Regions from separate parts of the Homo sapiens genome. Here region 2 is linked to region 1. The links are contacts of gene promoters, found by promoter capture Hi-C in blood cells and fetal thymus (Javierre and others, 2016). All regions are on one chromosome and are shown on one strand. Each heading gives the region's core, a stretch centred on a gene start or on the middle of the fragment in contact. The rest is flanking DNA. Distances are from core to core; before and after follow the strand shown. Region 1 holds the start of HMGN2 (high mobility group nucleosomal binding domain 2). Region 2 holds the start of CNKSR1 (connector enhancer of kinase suppressor of Ras 1).

Region 1 (7,837 bases), core at 3,286-5,785:
TAGAATAAAAATTACCCGTCTACAACCTAGAATGAATGACTTCAGCAATAATGAAAGTAAATGGCTGGTAACTGGCTAAATGGACAAATGGTATTTTATCCTGAATAAAAGTCTGTCAGAGATGACTTTTGTCTAGTTGAGGGTCTGAATCCTGACTCTGCTGCTCATTAAATGTACACATAACCTTCAACAAGTTTCATCTGTGCCTGATTCCTCATCCATGAGTGTGATACATATATTACACAAACATCTCAACACTTGAGAGATAATACACAAAAAACCTCAAGAACTTAACAGCGATACTTTTTTGACTAAGGGAATGGACAAAGCAATTAGTCTCCAATTTACTTTATTCCTGTCCAACAATACAGCCAGGTCTGTGAAAGCAAATTCAAGGTGCAAACATGAATTTGTTACCAGTTCCATATTCTAACAAATAACTTCTTGCCATTTCACTTAGAGAAACGTGGGGTTCTCTGCATCTCCAAACTAAAGGAATCAGGAAAGACCCCATTGTCTTTGTTTGCAGGTCTACTTAGGAGCAAAGTGTCATCTACCTTACAAATGGACAACTGTGTACACATTCACAGAGACACTCTCTGACATGAGTCTATTAATTTGCTAATTTTATAGAAGTTGCAAATGCAGATGGAAGTAGAGAGGCTCCTGTCAGCTACCCAGCCAAAACCGCAGATCTACCAAAAATCTGCATTTAATACACTTCATGTATTCGGAGTCATGCAAAAAACAAACACTGCAGGGAATGCTGCATAACCAAGTACAGAAATCACTCCATACTCCCAGCCTTTCACCATCAGCTAAGTCTACTCCTGGAATCCTTCCTAACTGCACCTAGCACTGTGTGTTTTGGAAGCTGACTATAAATCAGTGAAAGATCATCATTAGACTGTACATGGAGTACCTCAAAGCAGAACGTACCCTGTTCCAAGAGACTTGGATAAACCAGGTTACCCCACTTGTGGGAAAAGATCAGAGGCAGCATTCCAAGCCAAACTGTATCCAGCTTTATTAAAGATACTTTCCATAAACAATCATGGTATTTCAGGCAGGACATGGGCAGACAATCGTTAACAGTATACAACAACTTTCAAACTCCCTTCTTCAATGGACTACCAAAAATCAGAAAGCCACTATAAAACCCAATGAAGTCTTCATCTGATGCTCTGAACAGGGAAAGTTTAGAGTGAGGGTTGACATTTCACATTTAGCATGTTGTTTAACAACTTTTCACAAGCCGACCCTGACTTTCAGGAAGTGAAATGAAAATGGCAGAATTTATCTGAAGATCCACAATCTAGAAATGGAACCACTGCTCTTTTGACAGGTGCCATCTCAGTGGCATCACTGGAAAGTCCAGATTGCCTGACACACTGGTAACCAATGACTAGGGGTCAGGTCTCAACAGATGTCTGGGCTTAAGGGAGTTAAGTCTATGCTGAACGATGGAAAGGGAGAAGAGGACATAAAAACAAATTTGTTTTTCTATACCACAAGGCTTTTGTGCCAAGGTGGCCATGTGTGTCAAAGTCAGGGAATCCCTCCTCCTGGGAGCCAAGAGGAAGTCTCTCAAAACTAGAAGGGAAAGGTGTTTTCTCCACATCAATCCAGCTTTGGAGACATTCTATTAGTGACATATGCCCCTTCCCCCAAAAACAACAATGAAGTGTTCTGTGTGCTAACAACATAGCTTTTAAAAAAAAAAAAAAAGTAAAACAAAATTCTGCATTTTTATAAAACTTGATAAAAAATAGTATTTCAAACTGTACAGTCACCAGAAGTACACAGTTATCAAAAATGCACACACTTCACTTGGCATCTCCAGCACCTTCAGCTTTCTGTGCCTAAAAGAAAACAGACAAATTAATGCAATGCGTAGATTTCAAAACTATCTGTGTTCACATTCCACCTACAGCATCACTTTGCTCCCAGGCCAAAGTTCAGGTTTCAGGTACTGAGACTCAGTATTTCTTCTGAGAATGACTTACTAGGTAACTTTGCTAAGTCACCTCTCCTCTGGGCCTCACTGTAAAATTGAGGTAGGAAGAACACCAGAATAAGAGACCTGAGGTTACTCCTAGCTTGAAAACTTCATGTAGTATAAAACACAATGCCCTTCAGCTGACAGTAGAGATTTCAAGAATCCAGGATTTAAGTTAACAGGAAAGCCACAAGCACACTGGACCAAATGGTACATTTGGAGTGATACAAGAAAAGGGCAATTAAATTTTTGATATCAGCAACTAACTGAATGAACAAATCTAACAAAGGGTGAAACAGCAGTTATACCTGGTCTGTTTTGGCATCTCCATTTTCTGCAGGGTTATTCCCCTCCTTGCCAGCATCAGCTTTTCCCTTTTTCCCTTTGGGTACCTTCTCTCCCTTCTGAAAAAGGGGAAAAAATAGAACTGTTTCTCCCCATTTCGTATTACCAAGGTATGGTCTGCAAAGTTCTGCACAAGGTAGGATTGTTTACTCAAGATAAAACACAAACCCTCACCCATTTGACAAGAACAACTGATCAAAACTAGGCTAAATTATCTGTAATTTGCTATAATCTTTAGTACTTAGAATTTCCTAAGTAACAGAAGAATAAATTAGTTTAAACCCTGGGGTATTTAATATTTAAATGCAGATTTTCCTATAAACTAACAACAGAATTCTTGATCAGGAAACCAACGTTATGAATGACACGGACGAGGTAAGCTATCCACACAGTTTATAACCTCCATTAATGGAGGCACCATTATGCTAATTAAGTTAAGGCACTAAGGACAGTCCTCATTCTGTGAAAATGATCAGTTCCAATGTTAGCACTTACCTTTGCAGGGGCCTTTTTAGGCTTGGGCTCTGGCTTTGGAGGAGCAGGTTTCTTTTTTTGGCAGGAAGAGAGGAAAAAGTGAACATCAGTACAATGGACTGAAGAAAACCACCCACAACCAACCAAAAGTACCAAGGGTAGAGAAGTTTCTCCTCCTCCTCAAAAGTTTTTGTGGTTGGCTTTCTTCTAGAATGTTGGATTTCCAGAAGCCCACTCAAATGTCCCACTTTGGCTACAGGCATCAGAATTTCAGAACCAGCAAAACCCAAAGGGGCAAGAGTCCCAAGTAGAGGCAATGATTCAAAACCAGGCACTAACCATAATTCATGGAAGCAAAGGGAATTGTTTTTTGATGTTTTTTAGTTTCAGGGACAAGCACGAAAATTCAAAAGCATACACTTACAGCAGACAACCTCGCGGATCTTCTCTGTGGCTATTAAAGACAACGAGAAAGTTAGAAATAGGACAGGTAAGTCGCTTTGAAAGTTTGGTATCAATTTGCTCTAGATTATAGGAGTGTAAATTCAGGACACAGGTTACGGTTAATCACCGAGTCCAGTGGCCTCTGCTAGTCCAAGGCTTTGACCCTTGAAGAGAGAATGACTTACTTCGTCCTTCACCTTTGCTTTATCTCCCTTAGCATCCCCTTCAGCCTATAAGAAACAAGAACAAAAAACTGCAGATTTTGAGGTGGTTCTTAATTACTTCCCAAACTTTAGAGTGCTAAAAATGAAAATTAAAGCAGTCGTCCACACAACTTTTCTAGGACATAAATGAGTGAGCCCGACGTTCGTATAAGAACGAAGCGCGCGCAGGAGCTCCGGCTCGCCGACCCCGAGAAGCGAGGGCTGGACCGGAGCGCAGCCGGGGAGGGCAGCGGAGCCCGCACCACCGCGACAGGCAGGAGCAACAGCTGCAGATGGCGCAAACAAACCCCCTCCGGAGGCGGAGCCCAGCGCCGTTGCTATGGCAGCCGTCGAGGGCGGGAGAGGGAGGCGCGCGCAGCCCGGGGAACTCGTGGGCGGCGACAGCGCGCGTCTCGTGCGCGGGGAACGTGGGCGAGGGGGCGGGGCCATACCGCACAAGCCCCGCCCCTCACGGCGGCGGTTTTTTGGCGGCAGCGCTTTCCCCCGCCCGCCAACCCCGAGCGCCGCCTTCCCGCCCTTTCGGGTTTGAATTGCCCGCCCGCAGGGAGGGGAGGGAAGGGGCCCTCGCGATGGGGGAGGGGGCACGGGGCGGGGGCGGCGAGCCCGAGGAGAGCGGGATAAACAGCCGCCAACATGGCTCCTCCCGCCGCGGCCGCCGCTCCTCCAATATGGCCTCTGGCGCCCGCGGGCAGCCGAGCCGCTCAGGGTTAGCCCCGAGCTGCCCGACACCGTCTCCAGCCCCCGCGCGGGGAGGCTGCGCTGGCTCCTGCTCGGCGCCGATTCTCGCTCCCTGCACCAGGGAGGCGGCGGCGGCGGTGGCGGCAGTGGTGGCCCGGCGCCTGGGGCCCTCGCGCCACGTACCTTTCTCTTGGGCATGGTGGCGGCGGCGACGGCAGCGGGACGTAGGTGCTGGACGCGGGATGCAGCGGCGCGCGGGCTTTGGTCGGTCCGGGGGTCGTTCTCGCCTCTTCTTCACACTGCTCGGGCTCCGGGGGGTTTATAAAGTTTTTATAGCGCTGGGAGCCCCGGACCGGTTAGAACCGGATTTCACCTCCCGCCGCCGTTCATTGGCCCAGCTGGGGTCACGTGGGCGGGGTTTAAACTCACCTCCTCTGGAGGGAGTGAGGAGGGGGGTGTGTGGGGGGGGTAGTGCGCGGAGACGGCGGCGCGCCGAGGGGGTGGGGGCGCAGTCGGGGTGGCGCGCGTCGAAGGCAGTAAATGAGGAGGGGTGCGCGAGTCGGCGGGCTCCGGGTTCCGGCTCCCGCCAAGAGCTGTCTTTTGCAAACTAGCAAGTTCCTTCCACCTTATGCAACCCAGCAACCCACTTCTCCAAGCCGTGCGACACTCACGGCGCATCTCAGCGGCTTTCCTTCCTGCTCCCGCTGGGGGCCCCAGAAGAGGGGTTTGCGAGGCCTGGCTGCACTGCCCTGCTCCTCTGGAAGCAGGAGGAAGCGCGCGGCTGGAGGCACAGGCTGCAGTTCCCAGAGCCCAGGCTGACGCCAAAGTGGGAAAAAGGCGGGGAAACCAGCTTGGCGCAGCCGGACGTGCATCCTTCCGAGCTGCCACTTCGGAGAAGCCTTTCGTGCACCTCACCTGAAAGACGGTCCCACTCGAGGTGGGCTAGGGGTTTCAGGGGGAGACTTTCCATGCAGAGGTGCCTTTTGGGTGCCGTGGGTCAGGTAGGAGCTGTCCTTTCAGCACCCGTTGCGCAGCCGCCTCCCCAAATGCTATCGAAGCCCCCACCCCCAACTCCTCTCGGGTGGCTCCCTTAAGGTCCCTGTATTCCCAAACCTCCAGACCCCGCCACAGTATGGTGGAGAGCGGCCGTCGAGGTCTACCAGCACTCACTTCCCCCTACACTCTACCCCTCTCGGAGACATTTTGCCCAGCTGCCCAACCCGACGCGGCCACCAAGCCTGGGCACTGCAGCCGCAGCTGGCGAAATCCCTCCTTCCACACTGTCAAGCTGGCTGCCTTTCACTTGCGCGAGGAAAGGAGGGTGGAGGAAAGCGCCCGGGGATTAGGAAACAAGTAGAGGAACAGGTGGTGTGATGGCAAAAGGGCTCTTCCGGTGCCCCCTAGTCCAAAGCCAGGGTCTTGGAGCTAGCCAAGTGCACCTGAGGGAGGGTAGGCAATTGCAGCAGCAAAAGAAGGTGTTCTTCCGTTGCAGTTAGCAAACAAGTTTTACATCTAAGAATCTTTAAAAATTCTATTTGAGACCCAGCACACAAGAATACGATAGATGTCCTCAAATGGGGGCTTGGCTCACAGGTGGAAGGACACTAAATTGGTCCCATCTGATTTCTTGAGGCAAGGGTTGAACCTGGCTTGCACAAATCACACCTGTCCAAAGCAACCACGAGTTCTACTATTTTGCAGCCCTTGCTGCTGGGCGACGACGACGACCTCTCTGCCTCTTCTTTCCACCACTACATCGCCTCCTGGGGCAGCTTCTCCCTACTCCACCCTGTGTACCTTTCCCAGAATACAGAACCTCAGGCCAAAGAGAGATGCCAGCCCCATTAATCACCTCTACTGTACCCCAATCATATTACGGAAAGTCAGACCCAGGAGACAGGACTCAACAGCCACGCTCATAGGGCAGATTCCGTTTGCTGCCTCCAGCCCCTCATTCCCGCCTTAATTGTAGGGCTCTGCATTATAGCCGCATAATTCATGCCTCCCTAATTATGGCTGTCAACAGCCCCATTGTAAAGCTGTAAAATGTACAGCACCTGCTCTCCAGGAACCCTGTGCCAGGGATTGGTAGAGGGGAGTGCCAGGTGTGGATGGGGGCTTTGCCAAAGGGTTCACTGATTGGCTTCTCAATCGCCGTGTCTGGCATTTATGCTTGATTCTGGGAGCATGGACAATAGCCAAGAAGTCTCTTGCCGCCAGGTATCCCGGGACAGAAAGGGGAAGAGGCGGGTGGGGTATAGGAAAGTTAGGGGTTTCCTGTGTGCTCTTGCTACAACTTGCAAGATTTCACCTCTCCCCTAGAGGGAGCTGCTAGGGAAACAGCTTGCAGAAAGTAAAATGGGAAGTCTGGCATGGTGGCTCATGCCTGTAATCCCAGCACTTTGGGAGGGTGAGGCCGGCGGATCACCTGAGGTCAGGAGTTCGAGACCAGCCAGGACAGGGTGAGATGCTGTCTCCAAAAAAAAAAAAAAAAAGAAGAAGGAAAATGGACTTTAAAGAGAGTAGCATTTGGTTGGTGTTGCTGGCTGGTACTTGCCGGTGTGGGGCACCTGAAATAGAGTTGCTCAGGCAGACAGCTCTTCAAAGGCACTAATCCTCTCAGCAGCTCTGCAGCAAGTCCTGGCAGAGGGAGGTAAGGGAAAGGACACAGCTTTGACCCTCACAAGCAGAGGACCTAGAACAAGCTTTGCCATGCCAAGAATAAATCATCTAGGGCCTACTTAGGGAGCCAGGTCAAAAAGCTGAGAGAAACCTCGAAGAGTGGAGTGGGAATCAGAGTTTGAGATGGTGAGGGCAGGGAGCAGAGTCAGTTGGAAGAAGTGTTTGGTTCTGCTCAGTCCTGTTGTGTTACAGGGGAGGCCTGTGCTGGATTCAGTTCACCAGGGCCTACAGGCCCTTCTGTTACCCTGAACCATGGAGGGGGCCAGTCTCATTTGGGAGTGGAGCCTGGCCCCATGCCCTGCAAGAGGAGGAGAAAAGCTTGTGTGGGCTGAGTCGACAATAGGTAATTGGATTGTAATCGCCCGCCTGGCTTCCGCGCACCATTGGGGGTGCTGAGTCTTTCAGTGAGCAATCAGTACTGTGTGGTGGGAGAGGGTAGAGATTCAATAGCAAATCCCAGGTGGAGAGCCAAGGGGGAGGAGCAGCAGATGGGCAAATTTTCTGTCTCTCCCACCCCTTTTTTCCTTACCCAAATAACTGCCTGCCTATTAGTTATTTACTAGCAGATCCAAGGTAGAGCCAAATCTTTTGTGGAAGCTGGGTGGAAGGCTAAAATGGAAGGGTAAAGAGCTAGGGTTTTGGGGAGAACTCTTCCCTGAAATTCTGTGTGTTGAAGGATGTGCTGGTGGAAAAAGAAAGTGCATCTAAGAGACAGGCAGCTGATGAGTTGTGGCCCTTTGCTCTCCAAACCCTATTGGTGACCAGACCTAGGTTTAGTGTACTCGTGGGAGACTTTCACCCTCAATCCTCCTCAGGAGCCTGTCCCAGGCAGCCCAAAGGTATCTATGGCCAGCAAACCTGGCCTGGGGGGCTCCCCAGCCAAGCAAAGGGAACACCATTCATTATCAGGAAAGGAGGTGCCTTTCACCAAGAAAAGGAAGGGGAGTGGAGCCCTGGAGGCAGAGGGCAGGGCAAAGTGGCAGGTGGCCAG
Region 2 (7,837 bases), core at 1,744-4,243, 290 kb after region 1:
AAGGGATAGTCCTGCAGGGAGTCGTCAAGACCTGGAGGGAGAGTAAGGCTCAGCTCGGGGAAGCAGAGGTGTCAGGACCTTTTGGGATGGTTCTTCATGCCTGCAAAGCTCTTTTCCCTCTAGTCTAACCCTAATGACAACTCTGACACCCAGGCTGTTCTGCCCATTTCACAGATGAGGCCACTGAGTTGAGAAGCAGGAAAGTATAGGACATGGGTTCTTAAAAGTGGCCCCCAGACCAGCAGCAGCAGACTCACCGGAGAACTTGTTAGAAATGCAAATTATCAGGCCTCACCCCACACCTGCTGAATCAGAAACTCTGAGGTTGGGGCCCAGCAGTCTTTTTTTTGTTTTTGTTTTGTTTTTTCTTTTTGAGACAGGGGCTTGAGACACAGTCACGGCTCACTGCAGCCTTGACCTCCTAGGCTCAATCCATCCTCCCACCTCAGCCTCCCAAGTAGCTGGGACTACAGGCACACACCACCACACCCAGCTAATTTTTGTATTTTTTGCAGAGGTGGGATTTCACCATGTTGCCCAGGCTAGTCTCGAACTCCTGGGCTCAAGCAATTTGACTGCCTCAGTCTCTGAAAGTGCTAGAATTACAGGTGTGAGCCACGACGCCCAGCCAGCAGTTTGTATTTTAATGCAGGTGACTGTGATGCTCCCTTAAGTTTGAGAACTAATGATACAGGGGATAAGAACAAGAGGCTATGGAGTCACTGAGACACTGTGAACACTTGAGCAAGTAATAGCACTGCTCTGTGCCCAGTTTTCTCACCTGTAATGTGAGAATAATAAAAGTACCTACCTTCTAATCATGTGTGTATTGAATGACACAACATATGTCAAGGCCTTGGCCACTGTCTGGTTCGTGGGAGACAGCCAATAATAGCCATCATATTATTATTGCCAGACTTTACCATGACCTACAGGCCCTGTATGATTAGGCTACTACCTCCCTTTCCAGCATCATATCCTGAAGAGCCCCCTAAACTCAACATTTCAGATGCACAGAGCTAATTCCTTGCAGCTCCTGGAACACCCTTTTACCTCAGCGTCCTTGCAAGTGCTATTCCTCCTGCTGGCGTTGCTCTTCTATCTCCTTCACTTCCTTTTTCATCTAACTTCCTCCAGGAAGCCTTCCATAACTTCCCAGGCTGAGTGGGATGGAGGGCTCTCCTCTTGTTCCCACTGCCCCTGAGCCTCCACAAACCCCTGCACTTGACCATCGGTCTTTCCCATTTTATCACAGGCTCTTCAAAGATCAGGCCTTAGATAACCATTTGTCTCTAACCCCCGGCCTGTGCCTGGACAAGGTAGGCACTGAAAAATAAGAAAAGTGTCTATTGAGGGCTTACTATGTGCTATGCAAATCTATAAGAGCTTTACACATATTAACACATTTGATTCTCACTGCATTTCTAGGAGGTAAAGACTATCATTATCCTGCTTACAGATGGGAAAACTGACACAGAGGTTAAGTAGCTTGCTCACTCTTCGAAGGAATTCTTCCCCTTCTAAGCCAGGCTCCTTCACTGGGGGAGGTGTGTGTGTGTGTTCCCTGTGTCACATTGAGAGCACTGGACTGGGAGTTCATGAACCTATCACTCCCTGGCTATGGGCCCCTGAGCCACCTCCTTCCTGCACGGTGACTGTATTGGGCTGGTGCCCTCCCAATAGACCCAGGCATTGAGCTACAAATGAACTATGTCATGATTGTCTCACTTTGTCGACTTCATAAGGTCAGAGTTGCCTTTCCCATTTGATGGACAGAAAAACTAAGACCTATGGTCACAGAGCTGGCAAGCGGTGGGGGTGGGCCTGGAATCCAGCCTGGGAGTCTGAACCCAGCCCTGAATTCCTGCCCTTACCCGGGCTGGTCCTCCTGAGCCTGTCTCTAGTGCGCTCCAGCTCCCCACTCTGGGAGGGGTGTCCTGACTGCCTGCTCCTGGTCGCACTGTGTGTCAGGAGGCCCTTCCTTCTCTGAGTCTGCCTGTGGGGTGTGTTGCTTCCCATCTGTGTGGGCTCGCTGAGCCTGGACAGCACCTTGCCCCTTGGATAGGAGCCCCAGGGTGGGGCTGTGTCAACCTCTTCAGTCTGGCCTAGGGCTTCTGCTTCTGTCACTAGGAGCTCAGGGTGTGGAGCGGGGAAAATGACACCAGAGACTGAGCAAATCATTTCCTGGCTCTGTGTGTCAGTTTCTGACTCTAAGAAACGGATTTAACAACAGCCCACTGGCCCTGGGGCCAGGGAAGATGAAGGAGATACAGTGGGTGTGGGCCTGTCAGGCCTCCCTCCTGTTTTCATGACACCGCCTCCCCATTATCACCCTAGAGGCCTCTTGGGCTACTGCCATGATGAGGGGCCCCCTTCTGGGTCCTTGGGCCCCCCAGGGTCATCTCATCTGTCTCTCTGCCCAGCACGGTTCCTGGAACATGTTAGGTGCTCTGTAAATATTTGTTGACTGACTGACCGACTGATAGAGCCCGCAGTTTATTATTTTTTTTTTTCTTTTGAGCTGAATCTCGCTCTGTCGTCCAGACTGGAGTGCAGCGGTGCAATCTCGGCTCACTGTAACCTCTGCCTCCTGGGTTCAAGCGATTCTCCTGCCTCAGCCTCCCAAGTAGCTGGGATTACAGGCACCTGCCACCACCCCCAGATAATTTTTGTATTTTTAGTAGAGACGGGGTTTCACCATGCTGGTCTTGAACTCCCGACCTCAGGTGACCCACCCACCTTGGCTTCCCAAAGTGCTGGGATTACAGGTGTGAACCAGCGCACCCAGTCCGCAGATTTTTTTTCCTTTTCCTCTCCTCCCGCTTCCCGGTGGGACACCACACCTAGTCCCCTTCAAGCCCAACTCTACCCCAGCCCCACCCACCTCTCAGCCAAGTTGCCACCTTTCCGGGGGTCCAGGTCTCTACCGGTTCCATGGCCCAGCTCTGCCAGCTCGAATCAGCTCCTGTTTTGCCCTGCTGTCGCCGGAATTTCCGCTCCCAGAGCCCAGGCCTAAGGAGGGGCCGGGCTGGGTCCTGGGCGGAGCCTACTGCATACCTGGGCTCACACAGACGGCAAGATGAGGCACTGCGACAGCCATTGGCCCACGCCCGTCCGCCTCCTGCCCGGCCCTTCAGACATCCTAGGGCTCTGGCATCTCGCGCCTGCTAGGGGGCAGTGCCACTGGCCTCATATCGCGGGGTGGGACCCTGACCCTTGGGCTCCTCAAGAAAAAGCCACAAGAGGAGCGCTGAAATCAGTAGCAAAGCACAGAGGCTAGGGGGCCAGGTCCCTGGGTGCCTAGGCCAGCTCTTGTTAGCTGTGTGACCTGGGGCTGACCCTAACTTCTGCGCCTCAGTTTCTGGGTCTGTAAAAGAGATATAATAGACCGTACTTCAAAGGGCAGCTGTGCACAGTATCTGAATGGCTTGAAAACATTTAGAACTGGGGTGTTTAGCCTCCCTTGGATTTTGCAGTATGGACTCTGGCATCTGGTGAGGCCTGTGAATGCTTTCTCAGAATAGCTGCTTATAAAGGCATAAAACAGGCCGGGCGCGGTGGCTCACGCCTGTAATCCCAGCACTTTGGGAGGCCGAGGTGGGCGGATCACTTGAGATCAGGAGTTCAAGACCAGCCTGGCCAATATGGTGAAACACCATCTCTACTAAAAATACAAAAAATTAGCTGGGCGTAGTGGGTGCTTGTAATCCCAGCTACTCAGGAGGCTGAGGCAGGAGAATCCCTTGAACCCAGGAGGGGGAGGTTCCAGTGAGCCAAGATCGTGCCACTGCACTCCAGCCTGGGCAACAGAGCAAAACTCTGTATTATAAATAAATAAATAAATGCACAAAACAAAATGCTTAGGATTACAATGAGAACAATTATCAAAACTATATTTAAAAACAAATTTGGCCGGGCATGGTGGTTCACGCCTGTAATTCCAGCACTTTGGAAGGCCAAGGCGGGTGGATCATGAGGTTAAGAGATGGAAACCAGCCTGCCCAACATGGTGAAACCCCGTCTCTACTAAAAATACAAAAATTAGCTGGGTGTGGTGGTGCACGCCTGTAGTCACAGCTACTCAGGAGGCTGAGGCAGGAGAATCGCTTGAACCTGGGAGGCGGAGGTTGCAGTGAGCTGAGATCACGCCTCTGCACTCCAGCCTGGCAACAAAGCAAGACTCCGTCTCAAAAAAAAAACCCACAAAAAACAAAAAAAAAATTTGGAGCTGGGGAGTGCTGGCACACGACTGTAGTCCCAGCTACTCGAGAGGTTGAGAGGTTGAGCGGGGGAGTATCACTCAAGCCCAGGAGTCAAAGCCACCCTGGGCAACATAGCAGGAGCCCATCTCAAAAAAATAAAACCAGAAATTTATATTATGTGTTTACTAACATTAATAAGACTGGCCGAAAGTTAAATTTTTCTTTTTTAATGACCTCAGTGTGTTGTCGACCAGCTTGAATAAGGACATTAAACTGTGGGGTGGTCTTTGACGCCCCTCCTCTTACATATTGATCAGCAAACAACTAAAAACAGGGAATGCTGGGCCGGGCATGGTGGCTCACGCCTATAATCGAGACGGGCGGATTATGAGGTCAGGAGATCGAGACCATCCTGGCTAACATGGTGAAACCCCGTCTCTACTAAAAATACAAAAAATTAGCCAGGCATGGTGGCGGGCGCCTGTAGTCCCAGCTACTCAGGAGGCTGAGGCAGGAGAATGGCGTGAACCCAGGAGGCAGAGCTTGCAGTGAGCCGAGTTCGCGCCACTGCACTCTAGCCTGGGCGACAGAGCAAGACTTCGTCTCAAAAAAAAAAAAAAAAAGACAGGGAATGCAGAAGAGTGGAGAAGCCCTACTCAGAACAGGCAGATTCGCCCTTTGGTCACTGAACCACTGCTAAGCCTGGAGGTAACCAATTAATGGCGGCTACATCACAGGAGCATCTGAAACAGAAGTTGCTCACGAACAATTTAGTGGTGGTTTAACAACCACTGTGATTTTGAAATCACTTGAGCATAAATATTTTGAGATACTTGCAATAACTACAATTTGATATGAAAATATGTGATTTCTATTGGTGACTAAGCCAAAGATACTGCTACTGCTTCAATCCATATAGAAGGAAATCATAAATTTTGGTTAGAGTTTAGCAAAAATAAAAATATAATTTTTTCCCATCCAAGTTTATGGATCCCCTGAATTCTGAACCTCAGAGCAAGAGCTTTAATCTTAGAAAAATATCTGACACATAGTAAATGTTCATTTTCATCATCATCATCAGGTCAGGGGACTCCCAGGACTTTAGAATCAGATAAAATCAGCCGGGCGTGGTGGCTCAGGCCTGTAATCCCAGCACTTCAGGAGACCTATGCGGGCGGATCACCTGAGGTCAGGAGTTCGAGACCAGCCTGACCAACATGGAGCAACCCCATCTCTACTAAAAATACAAAATTAGCCGGGTGTGGTGGCACATGCCTGTAATCCCAGGTACTCGGGAGGCTGAGGCAGGAGAATTGCTTGAACTCATGAGGTAGAGGTAGCGGTGAGCTGAGATCGCGTCATTGCACTCCAGCCTGGGCAACAAAAGTGAAACTCCACCTCAAAAAAAAAAAGGCCGGGCGCGGTGGCTCATGCCTGTAATCCCAGCACTTTGGGAGGCCAAGGCGGGTGGATCATCTGAGGTCAGGAGTTCGAGATCAGCCTGGCCAACATAGAGAAGCCCTGTCTGTACTAAAAATCCAAAAAATTAGCCGGTCGTGGTGGCGGGCGCCTATAATCCCAGCAACTCGGAAGGCTGAGACAGGAGAATTGCTTGAACCCGGAAGCAGAGGTTGCAGTGAGCCGAGATTGCGCCACTGCACTCCAACCTGGGCAACAAGAGCAAAACTCTGTCTCAAAAAAAAAAAAAATCAGATAAAATCAGTTCCATACTCAACTGCTATGTGACTCAGCCCAACTTCTACAGCTCTCTGAATCTGTTTCTTTGTCTCCAGAAGGGGATTCCTAGGCCTTAGCACTGTGATGACATTAAGTACTTTGAAATCTGTATCATGGGGTAGATATGAGTTATTATTGCTTTAATTCTGTGGGGAGGAGCTACCTGTTGTCACCTACTTCAGAATTTCTGCAGCACCCCCAGTCATCAAAGCCTGTCACGACCTTACCTGTAACCCAGAGACCCAAAGTCTGAATTTCGCCCATGGTTGGCCCATGTAGTGTACGTGTGTTGTCATCATTTAATAACGTCACATCCAAATTGAGATTTCCAGCTTCTCTGAACTTGGCCAGCTCTGGTGATGCCATCCCACCTTCACACTTGGTATTAACAGCCTCTTTCATTTTGTGAGCCAGTTGGCTTCAAATTTGCAAAATGCCCGTCTCCAGCTTTGTCTTTTGCCTCAGGTCTGTGTCCCTTGAACACTCCGTGCTGCATCCTCGTTTAACATTTTTGCCTCTTCATGCAGCAGCCTCCCTGTGGCACTCTGGGGAAGTCCAGTAAATTCTAATAGAGCCTTTATCAGTGTTCGGTAGACAGATCTTGATTTCATCAAATATCTTTCCTGAGCTGCCACCAGAGGTGAGAACCAGCCCCCTCTCTCCCTGAACCACGGCGCCTTTACTCTACGCTCCCAGCATCTGCCAGGGTTAGGCAGTTAGGAACACAGTAAGTGGCAGCTTCTATTTATTTTTATCTATTTTTTTGAGACAGAGCTTTGCTCTTGTTGCCCAGGCTGGAGTGCAATGGCATGATCTTGGCTCACTGCAACCTCCGCCTCCCAGGTTCAAGCTATTCTCCTGCCTCTGCCTCCCAAGTAGCTGGGATTACAGGCGTGTGCCACCATGCTCGGCTAATTTTGTATTTTTAGTAGAGATGGGGTTTCACCATGTTGACCAGGCTGGTCTCAAACTCCTGACCTCAAGTGATCTCCTTGCCTCGGCCTCTCAAAGTGCTGGGATTACAGGCGTAAACCACCACGCCCGGCTGACAACTTCTATTTTAAAGGGTTTCATTTTGTTTTTTGAGAGAGTCTTGCTCCGCTGCCCAGGTTGGAGTGCAGTGGCGCAGTCTTGGCTCACTGCAACCTCTCCCTCCCAGGTTCAAGTGATTCTCGTGCCTCAATCTCCCAAGTAGCTGGGATTACAGGTGTGCGCCACCACACCCAGCTAATTTTTTTATTTTTAGTAGAGACAGGGTTTTGCCATGTTGGCCAGGCTGGTCTCGGACTCCTGACCTCAAGTGATTCACCTACCTTGGCCTCCCAAAGTGCTGGGATTACAGGTGTGAGCCACCATGCCCAGCCTATTTTAAAAAGCTTTATGAATATAAAGTTCTACATATTTGCTGTATACATTTCAAAGGTAATAGGTTAAGTGAAAGAAGGATGTGCCCTTTCCCCAGTGTGTCTCTATCATGTTCCCCAGTGGGGGCCACTACTAAATTTGGGATATTCTTCTATTTTCTATATCTGCAGATAGTCTACATACTATTCTGCAAATTGTACTTTTTCTTTTTTATTTTTATTGGAGACAGGGTCTGGCTCTGTCACCCATGCTGGAGTGCAATGGTGCAACCTCAGCTCATTGCAGCCTCCACCTCCTGGGCTCAAGTGATCCTCCCACCTCAGCCTCCTGAGTAGCTGGGACTACAGGCATGCACCACCATGCCTGGCTAAATTTTTTTTTTTTTTTTTGGTAGAGATGAGGTTTCACCACGTTGCCCAGGCTGGTCTTGAACTCCTGGGCTCAAGCCATCTGCCTGCCTCAGCCTCCCAAAGTGCTGCCCAGCCATACTTTTTCATTTAAGAGATAATCGATAGCAAATGAAATAATACAAG

Evidence for each region. Contacts are between HindIII fragments. The CHiCAGO score rates a contact against its expected background, and 5 or more counts as called.
Region 2: the fragment with the promoter of CNKSR1 here is called in contact with the fragment with the promoter of HMGN2 in region 1 in 2 of 17 cell types (M2 macrophages and total CD4 T cells); the score reaches 6.3 in M2 macrophages.

Annotation. Positions count from the first base shown.
Region 1 is chr1:26,469,138-26,476,974 of GRCh38, reverse strand. HMGN2 (high mobility group nucleosomal binding domain 2) reads right to left here and starts at 4,535. Exons shown (of 6, transcript NM_005517.4): 1 at 4,348-4,535; 2 at 3,448-3,492; 3 at 3,243-3,272; 4 at 2,840-2,890; 5 at 2,308-2,403; 6 at 333-1,862. The coding sequence starts at 4,362. The coding sequence ends at 1,827. DHDDS (dehydrodolichyl diphosphate synthase subunit) reads right to left here. Exons shown (of 9, transcript NM_205861.3): 9 at 5,669-7,837. RefSeq lists silencers at 3,811-3,980, 4,021-4,310, 4,571-4,840, 4,725-5,140 and enhancers at 4,510-5,219, 5,220-5,928. The HindIII fragment of the contact is 7,205 bases long and covers 1-6,871 here.
Region 2 is chr1:26,172,647-26,180,483 of GRCh38, reverse strand. It overlaps CNKSR1 (connector enhancer of kinase suppressor of Ras 1), which reads right to left and starts at 2,993. Exons shown (of 21, transcript NM_006314.3): 1 at 2,885-2,993; 2 at 1-31. The coding sequence starts at 2,936. The HindIII fragment of the contact is 21,071 bases long and covers 1-7,317 here.